Regions from separate parts of the Homo sapiens genome. Here all the other regions are linked to region 7. The links are contacts of gene promoters, found by promoter capture Hi-C in blood cells and fetal thymus (Javierre and others, 2016). All regions are on one chromosome and are shown on one strand. The core of a region is centred on a gene start or on the middle of the fragment in contact, and the rest is flanking DNA. Distances in the headings are between cores, read along the strand shown. Region 1 overlaps DMTF1 (cyclin D binding myb like transcription factor 1). Region 2 overlaps ELAPOR2 (endosome-lysosome associated apoptosis and autophagy regulator family member 2). Region 3 overlaps ELAPOR2 (endosome-lysosome associated apoptosis and autophagy regulator family member 2). Region 4 overlaps DMTF1 (cyclin D binding myb like transcription factor 1). Region 5 has its middle 5.5 kb from the start of DMTF1. Region 6 has its middle 9.2 kb from the start of TMEM243. Region 7 holds the start of SLC25A40 (solute carrier family 25 member 40).

Region 1 (3,934 bases), core at 501-3,000, 710 kb after region 7:
AGGCAATATACATAAAAGTATTTAACGATATGCCTGGCACATAGTATTTATTGTTAGCTAAAAAGAGGTGGTTTGACTAAATGAAGAAAAAAGCAGTAAGTCCAAGTCTATTAGAAATGCCAACTGAAAGCCTTGGAAGCTAAACTTTGATTTTAAAAGGGAACTCTATGGCTCTTAATACGTAGTGACTTACGTGGAAGTGCAACAACTGATATGCAAGGAGTAGAATCATCAATACTCTGATCATCCTCAGAGGACAAACAAAGCCTTTTATGTGGAGGTTCAATACTATCTTCTGAGTCTATTTCATCCGCTTCTAATGGAAGAAAACAAACAAACAAAAATTTCAAACCAAAGAGGGAAAATAAAATCTCTAACAATGGCTCTACAATTTTCTTATCTATTAAAAAAATTTTCTTACCAATTTGCTCATTTAACTAAACCTAGTTGTGCAAACAGGATTCAAAAGGACACTGCCTTTCTATGCCTACTGCAATGCAGTATTCAACTCCTCAAGGCGGTGTCTTAAACTTGAAAGAGAAGGGAAGCCCGGGGAAAACTGCTATCTCTCTTGGCAGTAGAAGCAATATGTGCAATGACACAGACGTATGAGAAGCTTAAGGTATAGGTATGTTAGGAAAATAAAGATAGTGTGATCTGCTGGAACACAGGTATATGAAATGCGGCAGGAGGTAAGACTATGAGGAAAGCAGAAATGACTGGGGCCTATGGGCCAAATTAAAGAACCTGTACTATATTCTAAAAACCTTGGGAAGCTTTATGCTATTAAATGTATCAGGAACAATTTCATCAGCTGCTTGAAAGACGAATGATAGGTAGGACACTGGTTAAAAGGGTATTAGAGCTACCTAGATGAGAAATGAGAAACTGAACTAACAAAGGCAGGCTTGAAACAGAGAGGATGCAATGGATTTAAAAAACATAATACTATCAAGAAGTCTTCAAATGAAATGATGCAGGTGATGAGAGAAGTAATTTATTCCCAACCACATTCATGATCTGGACACTAAGTAATGAAATTCACAGAGAAAGGAAAAAAGAGAACTAGGTTTAGGAAGTACATGTAAGGATTGTTTGGGACATATGAAACTTAAGATGCCTATGAGAAGCACAGAGAATTCTGTATAAAGACAGATTCTGAGTCATCTTTATAGGTAGGTGCTACTTAAAATCCTAACTTTGAATTAAATAACCTATGAATTATATACAGAGTGAGAAGAGAAGACATAACCTAGGTTGAGTAAAGATGAACTTCAGAGCACAATAAATAAATGACATAAATAATGAGCAAGTCGGGGAGTAACAACAAAATTATCAGCTGGAAAGCTATTGAATCTTAATTCATTGTAGATCACCATATTAAGTCATACTGAAATGATTGTGTACAATTTTTTAACACAGTTTCTAACAAAAAAGTCTACTTGCATTGAGGAATAATTCTACATTTTCTAATGTATTAACTATGCTGCTGGTACCAATTAGTATAAAAAAAGAAGTATATATTATAGTTATTCCATCATTACCTTTGGGGGCTCAACAGATCCTATTTATAACATAGCAACAAGATTGACAAAAACTAACATTTATGTTAAAGAGATAATCTCCTTTTCTACTGTGCAGCCTAAACTCATAGGCACCTAGACCCCTATTTGGGCAATAGGGGTCAAAAGTGACATGGAATTCATAAATTCAGAGAGTCAGAATTATATGTCAGCAAGTTCTCCTACCATTCTGAGGGCAGTGAAGAATGAGATTCCCTTCTGTGTCCTGAGTCAAAGTCACAGAGTTCACAGTTTCTACTGTTACTGTGTCAGAATCCTCTTCCACTGTGCTCATACTCAAATCTGTACAAGAACAGATTCCAGATCAGGATTTCAAAAATTATTCCCAAATATGAAGTATTCCCTTATAATCCCCTGAAATACCACACACATTTATTTGGGTATCTGCCTACAGTGTTCTTCATGTAAAACTGCAATGAGAGTTCAGATTTCAAAAACTGCCTTTCACAAATTTATACCCATTATTTAGAATTAGATATCTCAAAGAATCTGTTTGCTCTGATAAATTTTAAAAACCTACAACATTTGTAATACTTTAAAAAACGTTTTTGCAACATCCAACAAAAGAGAATCCGTCTTATCAGCAAAACTTTCCCCACTTTTTTACTGTGTTTTTATGGACAGCTTTGTAGGTACTTAACTTCTTTTTCTTTAAGCAGAAGATTCATCAAAACTTTTATCTTAAGAATTATTTTTTCAAAACATTTTTTACAGGTATTTAAGCTCTATTATCTGAAAAACAGGAACACTAAATAATTCTTGCTGTGTTTTCAAAATATTGAAAAAGTGCATACATCCATCACTGACCAAATTGTAATTTTAAAAGACGAGTTAGTCCTTCTTTTGAAACAGGTAACTTTGAACATCGTTCAAAGTATCCTTACCTGCTATTTTACACAAATATTATTTTCCTCTTGTTCAGACAGATGGAATAACTAGTCTCAGAATATAGCATCTCATGGCTAGTGGGGGGAAAGGTATGAAACTATAATCAATAGCCTGGTTGAAGTCTTCAGAAATACCTTATAAGGTTTAAGGAGGTTCTTGCCTCAATACTCACTTTTGGCACGTATGTTTTACCAACTAAATAATACAGAGGACACAAACCCTGATATAATTACTCAATGTTTATTAAGCTTTTTTTTTTTTTTTTTTTTTTTTAGAGAAGGCGTCTTCATTGTTGCCCAGGCTGGAGTGCAGAGGCTATTCACAGGCACAGTCTTAAGGGTCCTAGAGCCTTGAACTTCTGAGCTCAAGTGATACTCCTGTCTTAGCCACCCGAATAGCTGGGTACAGGCACGTGCCAACACGCCTGGCTCTCTCTGGCTCCTATACACAAGATATTAGTCCATTCATATATTTACCACTGAAGTGAATGTATTTTCCTTTGGCACAAAAACTTAAATATATTAACATTTACATGGTAAAGATCCAATAATTCATTAAAATTTTACTATGCAAATTACTATTTGAAAAGGACATCATTCATTTTACAATAGTAATTATGCCATTCCCAAAATAAAGGTAAATGGAAATCATGATCTAGTTTTGACAAATTTGCAAATCATGTGAGATCCTTGCAACAGAAGCAGACTTACCTAGACAACGGATGGATCAGCTACAGCCCTTCCCACAGAATCAAGTTGCCTTCCCTTAGCAACCAGCATCACTTTCATGTTACCCAGATTGTTTCTCTCCCATGTTCCTATCTCCGCAACACTCTGAAAAAGTAACAGCATTACACACAATAAGGCTTAATAAGAACAAACGAATAGTATAGCAGTATGCTGATGACAATCTAGGCCCAAGCCTCTGTGATATCTCATCTGGAAGAGTAAGACAAAACCAGAATTCTTTTTTAAGCAGAATTTTTGGAAACTGGCCTCTAAAAGTATTCCCCAATGAAGGACAGAAATGATGACTATTCACAGGTAGTTTCTTAACCCAAGTGGCTCTCATCAGGCAGACAAACGTTCTCTGAAAAAAAAAAAAAAAACAGGCTCAGCTATGCTAGTGATTCTATGAACTGTAGACTGTGGTACCATTATGTAACATGATGTGTATATCAATCAATACAGCACCATAAATATTATTAGTAACTATAGTTTTCCTTTATAATTATTAACACCTCTTTATGTTTTATCTTAAAGCATTAAAAATTATATAGTACCCTATTCATCCAGAAAACCCTTTTAAGATGACAGATGAACAACCCTATCTAGGAATCTGTGGAAAAAACAAAAACAAAACCTTAAACAATTAGGCCAGAAAAGACAAATTACAAGCTCTTGAAAGCAATGTGAAACTTTATGAAATATGAAATGGTTTTTAAAGGTTTCTTTCAATAAGCT
Region 2 (3,891 bases), core at 483-2,982, 820 kb after region 7:
AGATACTGTTTTTAGGAAGATTGTTAGGAATCAGGGCGATGGGTCGTTTTAATTAATGTAGCAAAAATAGGTTAGCCAATAGCCCCTCTGGGAAGAAAGGCCAGACCCTCTTGTTTGTGTATGTTGCTCTAACTTCTGAATTTTACCGAGACTTGAATTACAGAGTATCTGTGTTCTACACATCATCCATCATCTATGGATTTTCGTCTTTCTCTCCTACAGTACAGGTCCCAGGACAGACTGAAATGAAAGAGAATCGGATCAAAGGCTTGTGTGCGAACACACAGCAATGTTGTAATTGGGGAAATCAGGGCAAGAGCTCAACAAACAGCTGTGTTTAATTTTAGGGCTTTTTAGTATAATGAGCTTAATCTATATTCTACAACTTTACATATCACCTGGGAATAATCCATTATTCCAGGTTTCCACAGAAAGCTGCTTCTTGGACATCTCAGATTGAACAGTTGTGACAAGATAAACTTTATCCTCCAGCCCCCAACTTCTAATATGCAGAATATATTTTTCTAAACTGAAAAGTCTTAAGCTTCTGATAACATCGATTCTTAGTAATGAAAATCTGCTTGAAGTAGGCGAAGGTCAGGGTCAATAGAAGTGATGCCTTTGGTCTCTACAACTAGACTAATCTTTTAGATGAACACATGTCCTACACATGTATACCTAGAAAGAAGAGTCTGCAACCTAAAACAAAGATTGAAAGGAGGGGCAGAGAGATGACAGAAGGTTCAGGAAGGCTGGGTTCACTTGATCACAGGTCCTTACTGCATTGGCTTTAGAAATTGCATGTGACTCATCCGTTGAGATCTGAAATTTACATTTTCCTTCTGAAAAATGAGAATAAATAAAATATATAGGAGGACGCTATTGAGCCTGCCTTTGGCTGTATGTTTTTATAAATGTTAATGCACAGATCCATTTATGTTCTTCCTGATGACTGACAAGTAAGAGGAACTAATGGGAGTTAGAAGTTCTTGGAAGTAGAAGAGGCCTAGTGACCTCCCAGGGGTTGAATCTGTTTGATATCTGGTCTAACCAGTGGAGCTAATTTACAGAATTGGTCATTGTTTTTCTCTGACATTGTTTTTAAGAGGAAAGTGGGGAGGGCAAGTTATTTTCAGACTTTGAAGGTAAAGGAATGTTTGTGCTGGGAGTGGGGAAAGGGTATCCTCTTGAGCTCAGCCCTTTCCTCTGAATACAGTTATGGGATTGTGGGCTAAACGCCTGTGAATAAAGACACAGTTAAAGTAACTACTCTGTGTTCACTCCTGCTCGTTTATCATTTTCCACTTTTTGTTAACATTAAAGGAGGCAAATGCCACAAAGGACAGACTATGCAGTGGGGAACAGAGTGAGGGCAGTTAAAGTGAGGAATTTTCAGGCTGAGAGCTAAAACCAACTCTCAATGTGAGAGAATGTTGAGGAGTATAGAAAAAGCTATAGGCCATTTTGAACCTCATTTCCCCCCAGTAGTTTGTGTCACCCTCATTTATTAATATTTTTGTAGAAGTAGTCATGTTTAACAAAGTTACATAAACTCTGATTTTCCTGCCTGGTTTTAGAGGAAAGCAACTAAAGGAAGACAAATGCAGAGAACTGGCCTGGGAGTCATCCAGTTATAATTGCCTGAGTTCAGAAAAAAGGCCCTTCAAAAACTAGGTTATGGGTAAAAGTTACATTTAGATTTTTGCAGAGGAATGGACTCTGGGGTGAAACTCATAAAATACATATTCCTTTGTCAAAGTCTTTGGATTATGAAGTCGAAAGGGGGAGAAAAGTTATTGTGTTGGAATGTTCAGCTGGTGATCAGATCAGCAGTGTGGAAGCACACGCACAAACAGGAAGCGATCATTTGGGAGACAGAAATAAAAGGAAAGTCAAAGTGCTGGCAGATGAAGCACAAGAATAGGATGTGACTTTGGAAAATGGTATTCAAAGGAAATAAATGAGGCCTGGACATCAGAAAGTATAGAATTCCTCAGGTTTTTGTATGGGGTGAACTTATAAAAGGTAAATCTTCTTTGGGTTTCTTGGCCTGTGTTTCACTTATAAAATGTTATTAATGAAACATGACCAATTATTTGTATTATGAGGATGAAATGAGATTAATATAAGATAAAGGAGAAATATAAATATGAGGGCTGATTATTGCTAGATTAGTAGAGCTAGATCCTGATATTTTGGGAAGAGTCTACAGTGAGACTCCAGAGGTTCCTAGGATAGGCCCATCCAAGACTTGGCATGACATTTTTGACTCAGTGAATAATAGGACTTAATGGGGCTGCCAGAGCAAAAAAATATAAAGGCCAACAGATAATTCAGAGTTGCAGTAAGGTATCAGAAGATAGAAAAGTACATGAGAGTAAAAAGAACAGAACTAATTGGATTATGTCTGTATTATTTACATTTGGTAAATTAAATCACAAAATAGCTGATTCTTAGTTCACTGCTGTAAAATCTTGCATAATGCAATTCTGCTGTTCTCCCTGACTACTGAATGATGAGTTTTGCTAACAGTTTTTGTTCCACATTCAGTTTATACCATGTGCTAGACAAAATGTCAGATATGAAATTAGTAATTTAAAGAATATAATTTAATTGGATAAGGATGAGACAGATATGTAAACAAACATTGCAGTTAAGTGATTTGAAGCCATGAAAGAAGCAATGGGCCATCATATCTACTGAGGGGGGTGGGATCAGAAAAGGCCCTATGGAGGAAGTGAATGAGACTTAATTGATAAGTAGGAATTTGCCAAGCAGACAAGGGTCAGATGTGAGTGTAGGCTAGTTTGGGGGAAAGACATTTCAGGTGAAGAGCACAGATTGAAAAAGGGCAGAAACATGAAACAGCATTGTATTGTAATTGGTTCTAACTGAAGTACAGCATGCAATGAGAAGCTTAATGAGAGATGAATCTGACAGGCAGGCAGGAGCCTATCATAAGGGACCTTATATCACACTAAGAAGCTGGTCTTCATTTGGTAGGCAATAGGATGCAGTAGTAGGACTTCAAAAAGAGGAGTAGTATGCTTTAGATAGAATTGGCAGTGAGTGGATGCAGAGGGTGAGAGAATGAAATGTTCTAACTTGATTAGAGGATGGTGCCTCTTAACCTCCCTGAGAAGAAATGTGAAGAAGATGGGATAAGGAGCTTGTTCTGTCTGGAAGGAGTGACTTTATGTAGAGCTGTTGAGTAGGCAGTTAGGTATTATTAGGCCCTGTTCCTCAGGGGCATGGTGTGGGCTGGTGTGGTGACCTGGGAATAACTTGAATGGAAGACATTGTTGAAATGACTGGATTGGTTGAGATCATGCAGGGAGTGAGAACAAAGTGCTGAAGATAGGACTTGGGTTTTACCTACATGAAAGGGGACAGAAACCGAGGAGTTCACAAAGGAGACATGTAGCAATGGCTGGTAAAGAAGAAATGTGAGTGTGGAGTTGTGGGAAAAAGAAAAGCCTTTGAAGAAGATAGGGCTCATTGTGTGTCAGTTGCCCGATGAAATCCAAATAAGATGATGACTGAAGAGAGAAGATTGAATTCTGTGATTAGGTCACTGGTGCTCAGCACCAGAGTGTTTCCTATGGGATGGTGGAGATGGGTTGAGTGTTAACTGGGAGGTGAGATGGTGGTGATGGAGTGGAATTGTGTTATAGAGCCTTCCTAGATTTGGTAAGCTACTGGGTCTTCAAAATCCATGTAAACCACAAGACCTGTAATGGTCATGTTTTTTGTTTCAGAACTTGATGGGCACAGCTGAGAAACATCCTTTCTGTAGGAAGTCCCTGAAGGCCATGGGCTATGGGTGAAGCTGTCAAAGGTTCTACAGTCACACTGTTATTGAAGGAGTTAGGACTCAGCCTCTGTTTTCAA
Region 3 (3,980 bases), core at 254-2,753, 900 kb after region 7:
GGTGGTTCCTTCCAGTGTCTATTCAGTTTTCAAAACTTTGGCTGTTTTTATCTTTTGTGTGTGTGGAGGGGGCAGGTGAGGGGCAGGATCATCTGCCCCTTGCTCAATACTCAGGGTTTAGTTCAGATAGTGGTTTATATTGTAGTTCAGCTCTCCATGCCTTTGCTATACTTCTTTGAGTATATTCCATATTTGCACAGTTTGAAGGTGAGCCTGGGACTGTTACTTCATAGACTGAACCAGAGGATTATCTTCTCTATTACTCTCTGGAATATTTTCTCAGGACTGCTTTTTATATTTCCTCTGGCCAGAAAGATGGATTATTGTATAGTTTTAGCCTGCATGTTTTTGTGCAATTCTACTTGCCTGGGATGAAGTGACAAGTGAAGGAAGGAAGAAAAAGAATAATAAGGATTTTCTCCTAAGCTCTTTGCACAGCTGAAGTCCCTGTTCTAGTTATCTTATCTAGAGAGAGAGGTTTTCTCTTGGCATATTAGGTGTTTGCATGGTTGTTGTGGAATCAGTGCTGTTCTAAGCTGGTGCTGGCCGTGGGGAAGGACTGGAAGAGAAAAAGAAGAAAAAAAGCACATGGATATCCCTCTCACTTTCTGATCCCATTTCCCCTCTCCCAGTACTCCAACCACAGGGATCTCTTTTCTTATTCTTCTGGCCAGAAAAATGGGCTTCTCTTGTAGTTTTTTGCATTCTGAACCCACTGTGCAATTCCCTGATTTGGCCCACCTTCAGCTCAAGGAGAAAAAGGAAAGAAAAGAAGCCCGGTAACTCCCTACCATTGTATTAGCTGTTAGAAAGTTTTGACTTTCTTATTCAGACTACCTGCTGTTTATTTTGCAGAGTCTTGCTTTTATATTTTGGGCAGAGTGGGAAAAAGAAACTGTAGCGGACTTTCTCCATCTTGGTTAGCACCAGTGTGAATAGTTTATTGTGACTGTCCAGATAGCATGTCCATATTAGGGCCTGGCCAGGGGTTGGCCCACTCAGAACTGCAAAGTGTAATGAGAGCAGGGGGCATGCTGTTACCTAAAGAAATAGGAAAGCCATGCCAGGCAGACAGAACAGCAGGTGTCTAATGTTTATGATTAAGAAGAAAACCTTTTAATAGATGTTTTAAGGTTAATTTTAGAAAGTATAGTTATGACAGAGGTATTATTAGGGTTACATTATTATTTTTTAAAAAATCTATTGATTTAAGAGATTCTTACAGGGTCAGTTGAGTGCAAAAGAACTTAAATAACTCACTTATTTTTATTTATCTCACAATTTGCAAACAAAAACATAATTTTGGATGTCTTAATGTTCAGAGCCATTTATCACTTATACTATTTCTGTACAAAGTAAAGCTCAATTTCAAGTGGCAGCATTGGCAAGAATCAGCTTTTACATTTAAATTGAATTTTTATAATTTTTTTTCTGTCTGAGATCTGCCAGCGGCTTAGCTGAATTCAGATGTGGAGTTATCCCTTCTGAAGCCAAATTTTGAAGTCAGCGAACTGTGCTGTCTGTGCTCCATCATCTCTTTGTTCTCTTTTCTCTCGTTTGACTATTCCCACTTTTCTTTATCCACTCTGTAGCAGAATCCTTCTTGTATCTGCTCATTTCGAAAGTACTTAAGCGTTAGATTTTCCCTTCTTCAGAACTTATCTGACCTGTGTCTTACTTATGACCTGGCCTTTAAAGCCTTGCTAGGTGAATGTCACCCATCAGGGAAAGTGATTTAGACTGAGGTGCTAATGAATGTTATGGAATAATCCTTCAGTGGTACCATTTGAATTTTCCCATGTCCCACCAGATATCCTAAAGTAAGGAGAAATATGAATTTTTTTTTATGTCTTGGCAAAGCAGTTAACTGAACTGAGGGAAATAAATATATTTTAACTGTAGAAAATTTTGATAATACATAATTATATAGAATAAAGATAGTCACATCACTTAGTTAACTACTGTCAATCTTTTGGTATATATGCCTATAGTCTTTTTTCATGTATCCAACACACACACACACACACACACACACACACACACACACACTACAGGGGTTCAGATATATTGCTTTATAACCTGTGTTTAACACTTAAATGTGTCATAAATAATTTTGTTATTAAATATACCTTTGTATTATTTTAAAATGGACTATATGAAATCTTATTATGTGTGTACCCTAATTTATTAACCAGTCTCTTATTGTTTCACAGTTAAATTGTTTTAAAGTTTTCACTATTTTAAATAATGCTATGATACAAACATGGCTTCCTTGGATTACATGCCTAGAAGTGGAATTGAGGTATCACGGGGTATATATAATATATTTGGAAATTTTGATGTAGTTTCTCTTGGTGCTTATTAAATAGTAAGCAGTTGCTGAAACCTTGCAAAAGCAAAGACGCCCTTTTAGTTTCAGCCTGATTAATTTAGAAGAATTTATTAGCTTATATACAGTTAAGTTTGTAACCATATATAATTAGACAGAACAAATGGGTTTCCAAGGATTTTGCTTTTCCCTTTTTGGAAAATTATACTTTCATATACCGTTGTGATTTTAATTTGGGTTTGGAATTAAAAAAAAAAGAAAATTACTATTACCCAGTTACGTGAAGACCCTTCAAGAGGTAGAGGGAGGGATCCTCCCTCCCTTCTAAGAAATTTTAAATTTTAGTTTATAAAGTGGTAGCTATCTTTCTTGCTATTCTTATGTTTGGATGTTGTCATATAATAGAAACCAATACTACCTTTAGACCAGGCAAGAGGGGCCCCTGCCTTGGTCTCTACTATAGAGGGTCCTCCTCTAGCTGTGTTCCTCTTGTTGCTTTACAGTCTGTGGGCCAAGGAGCTGTGGCCACCTGGATGTCATGCCCCACCTTCTTTTTATCATACTCTGCTAACATGACTTTGAAATTACCTGCCTAAAAGATCCAAGATTGCTTCCAGGTCCTTTGTGAGGTTTCCCAGGTCCATCTTCCTGATGTATTAATAGACCATACCATTGTGCAGGAACACTTACCAGAGTTGGATGTGCAGGCTGGGGTTGCCTTTTGTATGTGAAGCAGACCTCTCAGGGTGCAGGATAGGTATTGAGGAGGAAGAGGCACATTGATTTATGCTCCTGGCCTTGGTCCTGCAAAGAGTAGGGGTGGACCTGAAAGAGAACCTGTTACACAGTGATTTGTTATCATACAGATTTCCACATGCTATTTCAAGATGTGGGCAGAAAGAGCCTTCCGGGCAGAGAAAAAGTCACTTACATGCTGGGGTCTGGAGGCAAGGAATTGTATAGCATGTTTGATCCTGTAGTTTCAATATTTCATATATGAATAATGTTAAGAAATGAAGCTTCAAGCAGCAGATCGAGAATGAATTGAAAAAGGCATTTTATGCAATCCAAGATTGTAGACTTTATCCTCAGGCCAATGGTAAGTCATTCTGGGGTTTTGAGCAAGGATGACATAATGAGATCTTCCATTTAGAACTGGCTGTGGAGTGTAGTAGGTGTGGGCAAGAGCAGAAGCAAAGAGGCCCATTAGGCTGATGGTGGTGTTCATCTGGACAGCAGGAGATGAGATTGAAATAGGTCAGTAGCCATGAGGATGACCCTTGCCTACTATGTGGGACCATACTGTGGACAAATTCAAGTGGGTTAATGTCATGAAAATTATTTTGGAAAGCTTACAGAGTTATGCAAATGTTAATATTTTTAATGACAATAGTAATGATCATATTATGGATAAAGATTACATTCCAGCTAATCTCAATTCTAAGGTAAGCAAGTGTGAAAATCAGCTGAAATGATGTGGGAAAGAGTACCAGTGTAGGGTATAACATCCACTGAAGGCACCTTTGGGAAGGCAGGAAGATGGCTCTGCTAGTCTTTGGGGGTGGTGGTTCAAGCGGAAAGGACAGTGGCATTGGAGGTAGCTTGACTTGGGTTTCAGTGTTGGGGATGTGTGCCCGAGGTGGATCTCATC
Region 4 (3,833 bases), core at 504-3,003, 690 kb after region 7:
TTGAGTACCTGTGACAGACACCAGAAGGCCCATAAAGCCTAAAATATTTACTATATCTGTTCCTTTATAGAAAAGGTTTGCTAACCCTTGGTATACATGATTAAATGTTTCTAACGGTAGGAAGTAAAGAGGAACACACTAAGACCAACCTGCAAAAAGACAGGAACTTGGTAAAAACTAGTTTTCTTGTATATATGGGTAAGCACTATGGATGTCTGGACTGGTAGTCCAAAAATACTAGGCTTTAATCACTTCCTAGCAGTATAAAACCTGGGTAAATAACTTACTTTATAAACTAATGTTCAGGTATTTTTTTTTTTACCTGTCCTGCCTACCTCATACAGCTGTGAGGATCAAAAGTGCTTGTAAACACAAATAAATGTTAAGAGAGCATTATTTCCGAAGACCACATTTGGGGACTGAATAAAGATCAGACAGTATAATGTCTTTACATGTGTGTCAACTGAGGATCAGACTTTATCAACGTCTGCTCAAGGTTAAATAGAACATGCTAGAAATGTCATCTTTTTTGGCGCTTGCAGTCATACCTATAGGTAAATTATGTGAAATATGATTTGGAACTTTTACTGTGTAATGTTTATTATAGTTTATTAAATTCTGACTACAACACTTCTCAGCTATTTAAAAGGAATCTAATGCCCTTACCAATAGAAATGCACTTGATTTGTAATATTCATCTTACTGTTTGATGGATCCATAAGATCACAGCTATAATAATTTGAAGTGATTCCAGATAAAACTAAATCAAGGTTAGCAAACTACTGTCAGGGACAAATGTAGCTTAAGGCCAATATGGTTTTCACATTTTCAAAGGGTTGTTTAAAAGCTAAACAAAGACTATCCCTCAGAAACCTATGTGGCCTGCAAAGCCTAAAATATTTACTATCTGGCTCATTACATAAAGAAATTTGCTGATCCCTGTTCCCTAACCTAAAAAACGAAAAGAGATTTTAGTTAGAATGCTACAGGTAATAGGTGGATTGTAGAACACTTAACTATATTCATTTTTCTTGCTGTAAGAGAGAAAATTCTAAATACTATTTAAAATGATGCTATCAATATTAAGGTATCATTTATAAAATGTTTGTCTTCCCAATGGGTACTGTCAACTCAATAGCCAAGAAAAACTAACATGCCCAATCAATTTATAACCAATAGCAACTCTCATATTTACTTGGACTAGTAATTTTAGTTGCTTTGCAATCCTCAGACTGTAACAAAAACGAAAAGAAATCCTTCATTGTTGATTACACTGGTAGAAAGATAACCAAATTCAGATTAGGATTTTAAGAATAAGAGGTATGGTTAGTTTAAATGTCTCTAAGGTAACTCTGACAGTCAATGTACATGGATATATGGTGTTAAACACCAATATGTGGTTCTGCGATTCTCAACCAGGGAATCATAATGGTATATTTGGAAACATGCAGGGTGTTTCTGTTTCTCATAATGACTGGCATGTACTACTAATATTCTGTGGGCAAGATCAAAGGACACTGAATATCCTGCAATGTAAAGGACAGTCTGCAAAAACCTGTCGCTCAAAATGCCAATAATCACCTGGTTGAGACTAACATAGTGATTGGAATACTCTTGGGTTATCTTTTCAAATGCAGGTAGCATATGTAGACCAAAAACAAGGAAGAATATGGTTCTGAGAATTTCATCCTCATTCCTTTTTTTGTCACTATAATTCAAGACTGACGGGAAGGGATAAAGATCAATTTGACTTATACCTAAAGAAGAAAAAAGTTCTCACTCTAACAATGGCTGGGTTCCCATAATCTCATTAAGCATAAAACTGTCCAAACACAGTTCCCAATAGGAAACTGGCCCTTTACTCCCTGAAGAAAATCATTCTTAACCTTGCCAAAACTCATTTCTTTACCAAACGACCTCAAATCAATCCCCAATTGATATGTCTTCTAGTGAAATTACTACACGACATACCAGTTGGTGAATTCTATTTCTTTGCTTGATTGACTGCTTTTTAGGTAGTTTTCTATCATTCATTCTAATTTCTATTTTTAATAATTTCTATTAAGTCATTAATTACAAAATCTAGAAATTAAGATGGTTTCAAATGGTTTATAATGGTTGGGCAACTGCTTATACATCCTTCCTGTCACACATTCATTGTGTGTGCAAATATTAACTGAACTAAACAAAATATCTTAGATGTCCTTCAGTTCACCGACTTGGGTAAATTTCTATTAACATTCTAGAAAACCAAAAGACATCAGAGCCATTAACCAAATCATATAGATCAAACAGCAAGGAATCTTGAAGATCAAACACTTACAAACATGGGTGATCTGGACTGGAATCTGCAATGCTGCCATGGGGCTAGAAGAGATGGCTGTATTATCTTCCAAGCGGGCAACTCTTATCTGAACATGCTGCACACTGGAATTGGTATTACTGTTTGGAACTCCAGATCCTGATTTATTCTCCAAAAGCGTTGGGTTGTTTTTTTGGTTCTCATGTAACTGTTTAAGACCTTTTATTAAGACTGAAGGGAGATGGGTAGACAAAAAGAACATTGATTCTCCGACAGACCACCATCTAAGCAGCAAGGGAGGTGGGGGGAGGTAAGGAGGGAAAGTATTTGGAATAAATAACTGCATACTGGATGTGAGAGCTTATAAAAATAAGATATTTTAAAAAACAACATATCCTGAGATTTTTATAAACATCGTAACAAATTTTAATTCTTAATATTGTTATTCTTGCCATCTAAGATTTATAGTGTTAAAAAAAGGTAGACATTACAAAGAACATGGAAACAGGACATTTTCTATTCTAGGGTGTCTTGATAGGATTATTATTTAGGAAGAATACTGGCAATGCTAAACAGCTTATTTTCATTTTTTAAACGAATAGTGTATGTTTTCCCCGCCAGGGCTGAAGGGCCCTTGACTGTTGGTCTAGAGGTAGCAACTTCTCTTTTCCAAACAGTAATATGGTATTCTTGCGCAGGGAAGCCAATTCTAGACTTTGCTTTGCTCTATTCGTAAAATACGCTTATCCTCTCTAACTGGATTTTTTAATTTAATTTTATTTTTAGACAAGGTCTTGCTCTGTTGCTCAGGCTGGAGTGGCATAATCATAGCTCACTGCAGCCTCGAACCCCTGGACTCAAGCCATCCTCCTGCCTCAGGCTCTTGCTCCCCAATAGCTGGGACTACAAGCACATGCCCACCATGCCTGGCTAATTGGTTTTTATTTTTTCTGTAGTAATGGGGTCTTGCTATGTTGCCCAGGCTGGTCTCAAACTCCTAGCGTCAAGTGATCCTCCTGCCTTGGCCTCCCACAGTACTGGGATTATAGGCATAAGCCACCACACCTGGCCTATACCTGGGTATTTTAAAAAACCACATTTTCATCAAGGCAAAGTTCCTCAGCATTAAATTTTCCTTTGGAATAATGGAAGTTAAGAGTGCTATAATAAGGGGAATAAATTTAGTAACCTAAATTAAACAGACTGTACAACTAAGTTTAATACCTAAATGCAAAACAGGCAACAAAAAGTATGCTTCACTTTAAGCAAACCCAACTTAAGATCTCTAGATTTATATAATTAATAAAATTAGAAAATTACAGAGCCTTTGTTCTACAAAATTATCACAGAATTTCTCTAACACACCTAGCTAAGATATTTGAAATTATACAACTCACAAAAGTTGACTTAAACTTAGGTTTTCAGAAGTACATCTTTGTACAAAATAAAAATATAGTCATCAATCACTTAAGGATGGGGATATGTTCTGAGAAATGAGCCATTAGGTGATTCTGTCATGGGATCATCACAG
Region 5 (3,809 bases), core at 680-3,179, 730 kb after region 7:
ATATTAAAGATAATTATCTTAAGCCAGAAGACTTGGAAGCTAGCCATTTCTATTCTTTGGCAAGAACAGCTGACTACTGGCGATCACACAGTATTTTTCCAGATAGTGTTGCTACTTGGACAATTCTGGACTAAAACAAACACATGTTACCTATTTTTCAAGTGGAAAGAAGTTATTTTAACACATCACATATTTGGTGTTACTCTAAACCTTATTGCCCAAGTCTTGTGCATCTAGATGCAGTATTTTAAGAATAGAAGCTTGTCATTTTAGCCAGCAGATGTCCCTATTGTTCAGCAGGAGTTTTTTTTTGTTTTTGTTTTTGTTTTTTCTTTCCCAAGTAGTAACTTCAACAGTAGATAGAAATTTTGGGGCCTTCATTGCTAATGATATGCTGTGGCAGACCAAGGACAAGCCTCAACAGTAATAAAGCTAAAGGGATAAGGATTCTGCTTTGAAATCAAAATATGAGAAAGCTCTCTAGAATTAAAAGACTTCTGGATTAATCCCCTTCCCTTCTATTCACTGTACATTTAATTCCTTTGCACAGAATATGCAGTGAAACAGGAAGAAACAAGGAACTACGATAATGTTTATAACTTTCAGGAGTTTGCACATTTGTGATACACTCGGTCATTTCATTCAGCAGCTCTTCCTGAGCACCTCCTTTGGGCTGAGCACTATTTTAGGCACAGGAAATATGATGGAGAACAAGAGAGACAACCCTGCTCTCAAGGAACATATATTCTAATGGAGGAGCTTACATTATAGTAGTATAAGTGCATCTTTGTGCCAAACTTTTTTGGGTAAAGTACTCACTAAATTACTGGCAACTGCCTGTAAAACTTGCTTATAATTAACAATGAGGGAAGAAAACAAAATATGAATCAAATTGATAGCAGTAGGAGGCAGACAAATTCCTTGGTGGATGGGACAGGTCCCAGTGAAACCTGACCTTCAAGCCAAAGACAGCCTGAAGCCTGAAAACCGGGCCGCCAGTTCCAAGTAGAATCCAGTACCCAGAGTGAGAACTTTCTTAATGCCTTTGAATGAATCAAATGGTGCTTTTTCCAGGCCCACTCATGGACCAATCAGCACGCACTTCCTCCCACCCATGGGCCAGTTAACACACACTTCCTCCATTCTGAGCCCATAAAAACCCTGGACTCATCCACGAGTCAACACTACCTGCCTGCAGATAGGAGCTACCCACTTGCGTCTCTTCTCTGCTGAGAGCTGTCTGTCACTCAGTGAAACTCTTCTCTGCCTTGCTCACCCTCCGATTATCCACGTAACCTCATTTTTCCTGGATGCAGGACAAGAACTCATGACCTGCAGAAGAGAGGGCATGAAAAGGGCTATAACACTTTCCTGGCTGGCTCACTGAGCAGTGGGCGATGACATGCTCCCACTTGCTCGACTAGGGGAGTGAAGAGCAGCGAGTCTTTTGGAGGCCCAGACCTTGGGATTCCCTGAGCCAGAGCTGTAACACTATAGCCCTCCCGCCATCTGCTGGTGTTGGGCAGCTGCCCCACGTGATGGGAAGCGGTGGTGGGGCTGAGCCATCCCGGGAGTGGTGGGCTGGAGTGAGGCAGGAGGACTGAGTGGGCTGAAACATGTCCCCGCCCTGGTTCGCTGAGCTGCAGGCAGTGGGAAAGAGAGCTGTAGCATGACCCCCACCCCCCGCCCTTGGGGGGCTCTGCAGTTGCTGGTGACTCCCAAGTTTTCAGGTGCCACCATGTTCCCTTCGTCCAGACGCCGGTGCCCACAGTGGAAGCCGCTTGAAGTATGCCTGGTCCAGCTGCAGCCTCTCGCGTGGAGCAGGTGCCTGTGCTGGTGCCTGGAGCTGCCTGCCTCACTGCAGCATCCAGTGTGCCTATCTGTGTGCAGTGGCCAGACCTCGCGCTCGCTCACTCCCACACCCCTCACCGCTTCACGCCTGGCCTGCCATCCTCAGGCATTGGGATCAAGGCTGGTAGTGCGAGCCGAGGGCAGTCTGCCAGGCCAAGTGGGCAGAATGAGCCCAGCTGGTGCGAGCGAAACATAAGCAGAGGTGCTGCCGGCCACAGAGGTTTCCGGCTGGTGACGTGACTCTCAAAGGATCCTGTGACAAAATCACTTGGTATCATCAGATTAAGCTAAATTACTAGTATTAGAAAAGATGGGTCAATGTGTTTCTTCTTGGAAATTTCTGTTTTCATGTTTCTAGGCAAAGTGTTTTATGCACAAGAGAAACACATACGTCCTCTTGAATCTCCTTTGGCTGGTGTTCTCTGAATCCCTTTAATAGACATACAACGTATGTATATAAACACGGGCAATGTAGAGGTCTTTCTGGACCTGAAATTGTTAAGAGTTAAGATCTGAACCAACAGAAAACACTGCCAAACATGTTATTTCTCCTCTAAAATTACCTGAAATATCAACCCAGTCTTTTAATACCTAGTTTAAGAATTACATTGTAGTAAGTTGTAGTAAATATAACTGTATCAAATTAAATTCCATAGCATAGTACTTTTGTTACAGTGACTGCATCTTAAGTGGGCAGAGGTGAAGTCATATAATATATAATTTTTAATTTAATAAAATTGGGGCTAATAGGATTAGGAAAGGAGAGTTTCTATGGGGTGTTTAGACTTGAGAATAACCTTATTATATATAATCATATTTTGTAATTTCAGCAGTATTATATCTATTTTAGCAAACCTAGGATAAGGAAGATATGTGAATTCAGCAGTCACAGTATCTCTAATATCTTGTTTTCTGTGTTTATTTACATTTCTTAACCAGAAATATACATTTACGTAGAACTTTTGGCCTATGTTAATTCAACCTGGTGTAGCAAGACAAGGCTATCGCAGTCATTTTCTGAAATAAGGTGAAACTCCTTTCTCTATCTCTGTTGGATAAGCTCTGTTTTTGTTGAACAGAAGTCCATTTTCATATGATGCTGGAATCTTTTTTTCTTTTTTCTATTCTTTTGCCGAACAGCTGTCTGCCATGGAATCATTCTCTGAGAACACTCTTGATCTTGAGCCTGTAATAAATTTTCACAAGAATCTCCTCTGGGAAGGAATCCATGGTACTTTACCATTGTAGACCAATTGCTAGAGAAATATGTGATACAACAATGTCTCATACATAATGTTATAAATAACTGTTATTTGAAAAGGTCACAGTAAATATAGTACTATATAAGAAATCCGTCTCCTGCTATGGGTAACACTGAAAATAAATCTGAAGCCTTTCACTTTTAGGGCTTTCTTATATGTCTTTACCACAACAATATTTTTGATAAAGTAATAAATCGAAAGAAGGATTTTAGATTTCTCTTGGGTAAATGGCTTACAATTGATGGTAGCATTCAACAAGTGACCAGGGTTTTCCTACCATTCTCATATTCAGTTGGTGTTACAGTGTGATATTCTTAAATCCTTTATTTATTTGAAAATTTAAATAGAAAAGTGGTTGATTGTTTTTCTTTTTATTGTTGTTTAAACAAGTAAAAAGTGAAATTCAATTCCAATGAAAGAAGTCATGGATCATACGCTGCAGGTTTGCAAGGAATGTAACTGTTTTTCACTCTGTAACAAGCTTTCGGAGTGCTTCTCACACCCTGATGGATGTTCCTTTTAATTCTCTATAAATAAATGACCTTTACAGAGATTTTTAAGCATAAACTCCCTCAATAGCCTGCCTCCATCCCCATGCATTCATCTGTGCTCATTCTAAATTCCTTCCCTCCGATCCTAGAGATGTTCCTTCTCTTATTCAAGGCTAATTCCTCTTTTTGTGCTTTTGATCTCATC
Region 6 (4,279 bases), core at 961-3,460, 650 kb after region 7:
TTCAGTCCCTCTCGAGTTCTTGTCCCATGTACAGGAAGAATGAGGTGCACAGACAATTGGAGGGTGAGCAAGGCAGAGAGGAGCTTCTTGAGCAACAGAACAGCTCTCAGGAGACCCGAAGTGGGTAGCAGCTCCTTTCTGCAGGCAGGTTGTCTGGACATCTGTCCAGCTCTCAGTGGAGAGAAGACCCAGAGTGGCTAGCTCCTTTCTGCTGGCAGGTTGTCCTGACATCTGCGTAGCCCTCAGCAGAGAGGAGATCTAGACTGGGTAGCTCCTATCCACAGGCAGGTCATCCTGATGTCTGTTCAGCTCTCAGCAGAGAGGTGATCCACAGTGGGTAGCTCCATTCCTCTGGCAGGTCACCCCAAGGTGTGTCCAGCTCTCACTCCAGTTGGCTGACTCCACTGGAACTGACAGCCCAGCCCTCATGCTTCAGGCCATCCTTGACTTGAAGGTGGGGCTTCACTGGGGACCACCCCTTTCCACACAGGAGCCTGTCTGCCTCCTGCCTTCATCAATCATGTTGTCCACAGCACCCAGTCTGTTTGTGAGGAGGGCAGCCTCCAGGCCTCTTCCGAGCTCCCCTCAGTGGCCCCCATCAGCCTCCCTCCCATGCTGGTAGGCACCCAAAGTCTAGAGGGGGCCAAGGTGGCAGGGGGCTGGCATGTTAGCACCACCCTGAGTGCACACACACCTGGTTGGGTCATGACAGTGCCTGGGCTGGGCCTCAACTTTGCTCCAAAATCAGAGAGGGTGCCAGGAGGAGGGCGAGGCCAGGCAGCAGGAGCAGGCACTTCCCAGCCTGTGGGGGAAGGAGTCTTCCTTGGTCCCCAAGAGTTCAGAGATGCCCAGGTCCACAGCTGCAGCTGGGCAGCTGCAGCTGCACCCAGGAGGGCAGGGCTCCTGCCCCACCAATTCAGAAAGGGGCTGGGCTCCCACTAGTTACCTGCAGACTGATAACCTCCCCTGCTGCAGTAGACGTCTTTGCAGTGGGTGCACCAGATTGGCTGCCTTTGCCATCAACAAGGTCTTACTCTGTTACCCAGGCTAGAATGAAGTGGTGTGATCATAGCTCACTTGAACTCATGGGTTCAAGTGATTCTCCCACCTTAGCCTCCCAAGTAGCCAAGGCTTTAGGTGCGCATCACCATGCCTAGTTAATGGGGTCTCCCTATGTTGCCCAGGTGGTCTCAAGCACTTGGGCTCAAGGTGGGGTCTCCCTATGTTGTCCAGGCTGGTCTCAAACACTTGGGCTCAAGTGATCCTCCTGCCTTGGCCTTCCAAAGCACTGGGATTATAGGGATGCACCACCACACCCTGCCCATATTTGTACACTTGAAAGGTTAAATTGATATATTGCCCATTATTAGAAAAAGATGTCATAGATATGTTAAGCAATATTATTAACTTCTTCAGATATTTATTTTTCACTGTGAAGCTGGATGTTTAAGCAATAAGATTGTATTTCTGTCTAGTCTTCCTAAAAAAATTAGAGTGGCATTATTCTAAGAAAAGAAGTGTTACTACCCCCACTGTTATGTCTATTTAGAGAACAACTTAAATAGTATGGGAAAGTCACCTACATCAAGGCTGGCAGGTTTAAGCTTGAGTGTGTACAGTGTTTGTGTCGTGCTGTGTTTAAAATTATCACAGAGAAAATACCTTTGTGAAAAAGACTTTAAACCACCACTCCGTCTAAAACATAAAGGCCAATAATATCATTACATGAAAAACAGCTATAACTGTCCTGCATCTGTGAACTACATTTACATTTATTTTGTTTTTTCTTTCTCCCCTTTAATGTTAGGCCTCTCTCTTGTGGTGAAACAGTCACATGATGTCAGTCTCAGAGAGGTTTGAAAAACTATTCCATTGTGCCCATTTTACAATGAAGAAATGGAAACTCCTAAGGCTAAATGAATAACTGAAAAAAAAAAAAACAGCCAGGGTATGGTACACACATTTCCTAAAGGTATGCCTGAATTTTAAATAATTTACTCAAAATTATTATCAGTAATATTCTAGATTTTGAATGAAATAATGAAATAACAACTGGTATTAGTTCCATTACTTTTTCCTAAGTTTTCTTAAGAAATATAGTTCAAAACCTGAAAAATTATTTACCTGTCCTTAAATATTTTCAAATTCCTGACTCATGAAATTAATTAGTTAAAAATAATACACATGTGAAAAATCCAAAAGTTATTGTAGGAACTTTAGGAAATTGTTTATCTGCTCAAGAATCTATTTGCTCATATTTGAGAGGATTGACTTAATGAATGTATTTCTCTAATTTCTCTGGGCAAATTTTACACTTTCAAATTGAGAACAGTGTTTCAGCAATGTATGCTGCTAGACCAGTGCTGCAGATTTTATCTGCTTCAGTAGCACTGCCAAGTCAATTATTAAAACATCTAAAAATTATCTCTTATCCATTGTGGCTTATTCCAGTGAATAGCAGTTTAGAGTAAAAATCTATTTCACGGCTGGGCACAGTGGCTCAAGCCTGTAATCCCAGCTCTTAGGGAGGCAGAGGCAGGAGGATAGCTTGAGCCCAGAAGTTCAAGACCTGCCTGGGCAATATAGTGAGACCCCGTTCTCCACAAAAAGAAAAAAAAAAGACAAAAAAAAAACTATTTCACCTATTACATCTCATTTAATTCCTACAACACCTCTATGAGAGAGGAAATTTTTGTTTATTAGTGGACATAAGAGACAGCCTCTGAGATTTGCTCAAGGACACAGGTCTCACTACATAGCAGCCTTATTTAAAAATAGAGAACTCTCAATAATATCTATAGTTTAGATCAAGCTTGTCCAACCCGTGGCCCATGGGCCACATGCAGTCCAAGATGGCTTTGAATGTGGCCCAGTGCAAATTCATAAACTTTCTTAAAACATTATTAGATTTTCTGGTGATTTTTTTTTTAGCTCATCAGGTATCATCAATGTTAGTGTATTTTATGTGTGGCCAAAGATAATTCTTCTTTTTCCAATATGGCCTATGGAAGCCAAAAGATTGGACACCCCTAGTTAGATAATAGTATTGTACCAATGCTATTTTTTTTTAGTTTTGTTAAATGTACCATGGTTTTATATTGATAAGATGTTAGGGAAGCTGGGTGAAGGGTATACCCTGTACTATCTCTCTCTTCAACTTTTACGTAAATCTAGAAATACTTCCTTCCTTTTCTTTTCTTGTCTTTTCTTTCTTTCTCTTTTTTCTTTCTTTCTCTCTCCTCCCTCCCTCTTCTTTCTTTCTCCTTCTTTGCTTCCTTCCTTCCTTCTTTTGACAAGTTGCTGCTCTGTCACCCAGGCTGAGTGCAGAGTGTGATCACAGCACACCGCAACCTTGAATTCCTGGTCTCAAGCCATCCTCCCACCTCAGCCTCCCTGGTACAGTGACTACAAGCATGTGCCATCAAGCCTGCCCTCGCTATGTTGCCAGGGCTGGTCTTGAACTCCTGGCCTCAAGCAATCCTCCCGCCTCAGCCTCCCAAAGTGCTGGGATTACAGGCATGAGCCACCATGCCTGGTGCAAAAGTACAAAAATGTAAAAATAGATCTTCTAATTATTTCACAGTGTATTAGCATTTTATTTTATTATGTTATTTTACAGGGTCCAACCCAAGTTGGAGTGTAGTGGTGCAATCACGGCTCACTGCAGCCTTGACATCCCAGGCTCAAGTGATCCACTTTGGGCTCAAGTGATCCTCCCACCTCAGCCTACTGAATAGCTGGGACTACATTCACCTGCCACCATGCCCAGCTAATGTATTAGCATTTTAGATCAGTCAGAGTAGAATATAATTTTTCCTTTTACAGATGAGGAAATTGGTACTGACACTGACTTTCCCCAGCTCAGACCAGGCTCGAGTCTCCCAGTTGTGGAGGTGGTTGGTCCATAGCACCTGCCTGATATGCAAGGGGTATGTAGAAATCTCATCCTTCTATTCAAAAAGTTTTATCAGTAGGCCCACAGATCCTACCTACACTTAGGAGCACATACAGATTGATGTGTGCAATTGGTTGCAATGCCTAAGTTCCTTATATCTGTAAATCAATTTTCCCATTACATGACTATTCAGACTATGTGCTCCCCTAGCAGTTACTCCCATCTGGCTCTTGTGCTGCTGAAAGACATTTTCTCCCTTAATCTCCTTCTGTTACTTTCCTTTGGAACTGCAGCCTTCCTCCCATCTTGATTTGGTTTTTCCCTTTGCCTTTTTTCATGAAGTCCGCTGAGTGAGGCTGTGAGGGTCACACTCAAAGCAGAAGT
Region 7 (4,029 bases), core at 777-3,276:
TTAAAACAAATGGTTTTTTGTTAACGATAAACAGCTGATAAAAATGTTAAGCTTGGTGCTAATAGAAGCGTTTTCCAAAATGAAAAATTTAAATGATTACACAGTAGAAAGTACTAGTTACAAATTTTTCCTTCTATGCCAGTGTACGGTTTTCACTTACCCCTCCCAGATCCTTAATGTCCTTTTGAAGTTTTTCAGATATGGTGACAGAAGGTAAGTCAAGGTAAAATACTTTTCCCCAAAGTGGCTTACATTTGGATTTTTCTGGCCTGTTATCAGTTTTCAGAGATTTCAGAGATGGTCTGTTTTTTTCATTTTTGACTTGGATTCCACCTATTAAAGATGTTTAGAATCAGATGTTTTACACAGACACTTTTACTATTTTTAAAATATTTCATTATACAATATTACAGAATAAAAATCCTTACAACCCTACCAGTTTAAGTTATTAGCATTGAAATGTATTTCTTTGTAGTACTACTTAGGATAGAGGCAAAATGCCCTATATACTTTCACAGACCGCATATTGTAAAATAATAGTTGACTCAGCAAGAAATATTCGTGTGTTTATTCCTGAGGCACGGAACTATATAAAACTCTTTTGAAAGATTTTCTTTTTTTAGGATGTAAACTCCATGGGGATATTTAATACTCAACTATTTATTGAGCATCTGCCATTCTGCTGAACATTCAAAACTGGTGTTTAAACTTCATTTAGCGATGAAAGAATCCTCTGTTACGCAGAATAACCTAGTCCTCAAGGGTTTCAGACTGCTCAAGTTTTAGTTTCATATAAAGTTTGTCTGCATATTAACAACTAAACGGTCCATTTCACATACAATTTGTCTACGTATTAAGAACTTAACGGTCCATTACGAAGAACTAAACCTTTCATTATTTTCATTAGAAACAGATCTGAGATCCAAGCAACTGCTTTAAAAATTAATTTTTCAAACGCAATCTGTTCTTAAATTGGTAGTTACTACACACACACAAACACCTGTACAAAAAACTTAGGTGCTGGAATGTTTCACCAAATAAAGTGACTGAAAATGGAAATTTGCTTTTGTTTCCCTGTTTGTAATGTTGAAACCAGCAATGGGGTGTTTGAAATACAATGCTTTCCCCCAACTTATGAGGAAAGGAAAATAAACTTTCAAGGGTAAGACCAAAAATCCACCCACAATCACTCAATCTAATCCTGAAGCGAAAAGCCACGAGCGCGTCTGACTTTAAATTGAGGATGCAGTCCGTCGCCTCCAAGGGCCCGGGCGGAGGCTTAGCATATGCGAGAGCCCGGGAGCAGACAGCGCCGCAGTCCCGGCGAGGTCCCGGATCTGCACATTGTTTGCTAGTTTTCAACCGAAGGCACGACCGGGAATCAATCTGGGACCGCCGCTGTAAACGGCAGAGCGCTCGAGGGGCCGGGTCAGGATCCGTTCCTTCTTAGGCAAAACACTGAACGGGGGCTCCTTCCTTCAGACCCCAGAGGCCGGTCAGAAGAAAAGAAGCTGAGGACCCGGCGGGAGAAGTCTGAAGAATCAATGGTGGAACCACGAGGGGAGGAAAGGATTAAAGGGACTGCAGGCGGAGGAGGGGCTTCTTACCCTGGAAATGTCCTTTACTGTGGATCCTCATGGCTCCGGAGTTCATGGCAGTCGCCCGGCACCTACATGCTGGGTCCGGAGAAAGTGTCGCACCGGGCAGCCGCGAAAGCACGGCTTCCCCCGGCCTGTTGACAGGACGGCCGCCTCTCTCCTTCCGCCAGCTACGGCCTCTACGCAGTAGAGGTACCGCGTCTGCAGGTCGGGTTTCCGGGGCCGGATCCGGCTCCAAGGCGCGGAGGAGGAAGGCGCAAAGCACAAACGAGTGGGCTGCGGCGGTTGAAGATTTGAAAACGCGTCACGCGGCCGCGGCGCCGATACGCGCGCCCCGCCCCGTCTCACGCCACGCGCCGTGCCCCGCCTCGCGCTCGCCCCTCGTGCCTGCCTTCTCGCGCTGCGCGCCCCGCCCCCTCACGCCGCCGTCCTTCTCGCGCCTCGCTCTGGCCCTGCAGGTTGTGTTTCCGCCTCTACCCCGCCTCCATTCCGTTGCTCTCTCAGTCTCAGACCCGGGCTCTCGGTCCGCCGCTTCAGGTCTTGGCGCAGCCTCAGAGAGTTGGCGCGGCTCTGTGTTGACCAAACCTAGTGGATGCAGTTAGCGCCGGAGCCCGGCCCCGCCCGTCACCAGGGTTATTCCCGCCTTCTAGGTTTGCCAGGACTGCCGGCCCTGCAGCTGCCTTCTGCCCCAGGTATGCTAATTTTCCACTGGTCGGACGTCTGGGAAGCTGAAGGCGAGGGGCTTTGGCTGAGTCCGGACTCAGCTCTGGCCGGGCCCGGGGCCGGGGCCGGAACCGGAGCCGGACAGCGGCGGCAGCCGCAGCCCCTGCTCAGCGCGCCCTGGGTCGCACAGCAAGCGGGGTTTTCCCGCGGTCACTGCCGACCCCACCGGCTGAGGACAGCTGCAGAGGGACGTGCGGGAGTGAGGGCGGCCCCGGGGGGCGTCTGAGGGAGGGTCTGGCCAGGCGGCCCCGGCCTTGACGGCAGCGCCACCGCAGAACGCCTCCAGGTCACTTTGTGTCCTTGGGTAGTTGGCTATTTGCGCTGTCCTGTTGACTTTTATTGTATTCAGACCTGTTTTCTTTTAGTTGAGTGTAAGTTTATTTCAACAATGAAGGAGTGGAAAGTAACATCTCATTTTTTTTTCCTGTAAAACAGAGATTAAAGATCAAATTAAAATGCTTGTGAATATATTTTAATTTTATAAGTTGGAACATGCCTCTCCAAAAAAAAAAAAAAATCTGTTTCTTCAGGAGGAAGAGGATATTTTGAACTATTTTGCATTCCTCTACTCCAGGCCATAATAGGCACTCCTGTAGTGGTTGATTTTTTTACCTGGTAGCTCAAGGAAGTCAGAGTATCAGCGTTACGGTTTTGCAGGTAGGTACCTTAAAGAATAGACAAGGGTGGGTTGTGACAAGATTAGCTGGAGAACGCAGAGAACAGGTTTGCTAAGGGAAATGAGAGTTTGGTTTTAGACAGGTTTATGTTGAAGGGCCTGGGGCGACAGTCATGGAACTATGCTTATTAGACAGTTAAAGATGTTTATGACTCGAGAGAAATGTCTAGCAGAAGTGGACATGGGAAGAGGAAATAGAGATTGATTTGATATCTCTCCAATAAAATATTTCTGCATCAAGGTCTATTGATGTCAATCATGGGGCAATTCATTAGAGGTTAACAGATCTTGAGTGGTGGAAGGAAGTGTAGTTTGAACAAACATATTCAATATTGTAATTTCTATGGGAAAAAACTTATTTTCAAAATATAAGCTACAGAGAGCACAAAATGTTTATATTTACAGAAAGATTTAAAAAGTTGGGAAGCACTAATATAGAATGTAGTTAAAGCTTTGGGAGGAAATGAAATTGCCAAGGAGAGCATGTGAAATAAGAGAATTGATTATAAGCGTCGTTGATGAAATAGTGAAAGAGATGGAGAAAATGCCACAGAATTGGGAAGAGACTGCAAACATTGGAATCATATGGGCTTCACTAACTACTTGGCCTCTGGGTAATTTTGAGCCCCAATTTTAATCTATTAAAAGGGGGTAGTACTTCTCAGGGATGTTGTGAAGATTAAATGAACATTTTTGAATGCTTAGTACAGTGCCTGGCACAGAGTAGAGCTCCTTAAGAGCTCCATAATTACTATCATTCTAGTGAACACTGCACCAGTTCCTTCATCCCCAGGACAGATAAGGTTAAGACTTGAAAAATAAGTATTTGATTTTGGCGTTTCAGGTATCCTTGGTTTCCTTAAGGGTAATTTGAGTAGGTGGCAGAGATAAGTACAGTACTAGATAAAAATTATAATCTTGAAGTTCAGACAGGTTGAGTGTACTCTTTCAAAAAAATTTGTTATTGTAGGAAAGTATAATGAAGGGAAGACTGGATCTTTGGAAGGTTTAGAGGATGTGGGAAAGATTTTT

What was found. Contacts are between HindIII fragments. The CHiCAGO score rates a contact against its expected background, and 5 or more counts as called.
Region 1: a fragment that was not itself captured here is called in contact with the fragment with the promoter of SLC25A40 in region 7 in 2 of 17 cell types (monocytes and fetal thymus); the score reaches 5.5 in monocytes.
Region 2: a contact is called between a fragment that was not itself captured here and the fragment with the promoter of SLC25A40 in region 7, in 2 of 17 cell types (activated CD4 T cells and total B cells). The highest score is 5.7, in activated CD4 T cells.
Region 3: a contact is called between a fragment that was not itself captured here and the fragment with the promoter of SLC25A40 in region 7, in 1 of 17 cell types (non-activated CD4 T cells). The highest score is 5.1, in non-activated CD4 T cells.
Region 4: a contact is called between a fragment that was not itself captured here and the fragment with the promoter of SLC25A40 in region 7, in 1 of 17 cell types (activated CD4 T cells). The highest score is 5.0, in activated CD4 T cells.
Region 5: a contact is called between a fragment that was not itself captured here and the fragment with the promoter of SLC25A40 in region 7, in 2 of 17 cell types (monocytes and total CD4 T cells). The highest score is 5.6, in monocytes.
Region 6: a fragment that was not itself captured here is called in contact with the fragment with the promoter of SLC25A40 in region 7 in 4 of 17 cell types (fetal thymus, M0 macrophages, total B cells and 1 more); the score reaches 5.6 in fetal thymus.

The regions. Positions count from the first base shown.
Region 1 is chr7:87,162,865-87,166,798 of GRCh38, reverse strand. It overlaps DMTF1 (cyclin D binding myb like transcription factor 1), which reads right to left. Exons shown (of 18, transcript NM_001142327.2): 2 at 3,182-3,304; 3 at 1,749-1,865; 4 at 194-316. The coding sequence starts at 1,857. Among named protein-coding and RNA genes, the nearest start is that of DMTF1-AS1, 12 kb to the right of the region's middle. The HindIII fragment of the contact is 1,943 bases long and covers 779-2,721 here.
Region 2 is chr7:87,054,492-87,058,382 of GRCh38, reverse strand. The region is part of intron 1 of ELAPOR2 (endosome-lysosome associated apoptosis and autophagy regulator family member 2); the gene reads left to right. Among named protein-coding and RNA genes, the nearest start is that of ELAPOR2, 3.2 kb to the left of the region's middle. The HindIII fragment of the contact is 2,372 bases long and covers 547-2,918 here.
Region 3 is chr7:86,972,650-86,976,629 of GRCh38, reverse strand. All of the region lies in intron 1 of ELAPOR2 (endosome-lysosome associated apoptosis and autophagy regulator family member 2), which reads left to right. Among named protein-coding and RNA genes, the nearest start is that of ELAPOR2, 85 kb to the left of the region's middle. The HindIII fragment of the contact is 3,694 bases long and covers 1-3,350 here.
Region 4 is chr7:87,186,792-87,190,624 of GRCh38, reverse strand. DMTF1 (cyclin D binding myb like transcription factor 1) reads right to left here. Exons shown (of 18, transcript NM_001142327.2): 13 at 2,324-2,533. Among named protein-coding and RNA genes, the nearest start is that of TMEM243, 31 kb to the left of the region's middle. The HindIII fragment of the contact is 7,508 bases long and covers 1-3,833 here.
Region 5 is chr7:87,145,025-87,148,833 of GRCh38, reverse strand. No RefSeq gene overlaps it. Among named protein-coding and RNA genes, the nearest start is that of DMTF1, 5.5 kb to the left of the region's middle. The HindIII fragment of the contact is 3,334 bases long and covers 263-3,596 here.
Region 6 is chr7:87,226,772-87,231,050 of GRCh38, reverse strand. No RefSeq gene overlaps it. Among named protein-coding and RNA genes, the nearest start is that of TMEM243, 9.2 kb to the right of the region's middle. The HindIII fragment of the contact is 1,208 bases long and covers 1,607-2,814 here.
Region 7 is chr7:87,874,357-87,878,385 of GRCh38, reverse strand. SLC25A40 (solute carrier family 25 member 40) reads left to right here and starts at 2,026. Exons shown (of 12, transcript NM_018843.4): 1 at 2,026-2,290. DBF4 (DBF4-CDC7 kinase regulatory subunit) reads right to left here and starts at 1,893. Exons shown (of 12, transcript NM_006716.4): 1 at 1,608-1,893; 2 at 161-333. The coding sequence starts at 1,653. RefSeq lists enhancers at 1,614-1,733, 1,921-2,430 and silencers at 1,794-2,053, 2,184-2,633. The HindIII fragment of the contact is 3,397 bases long and covers 54-3,450 here.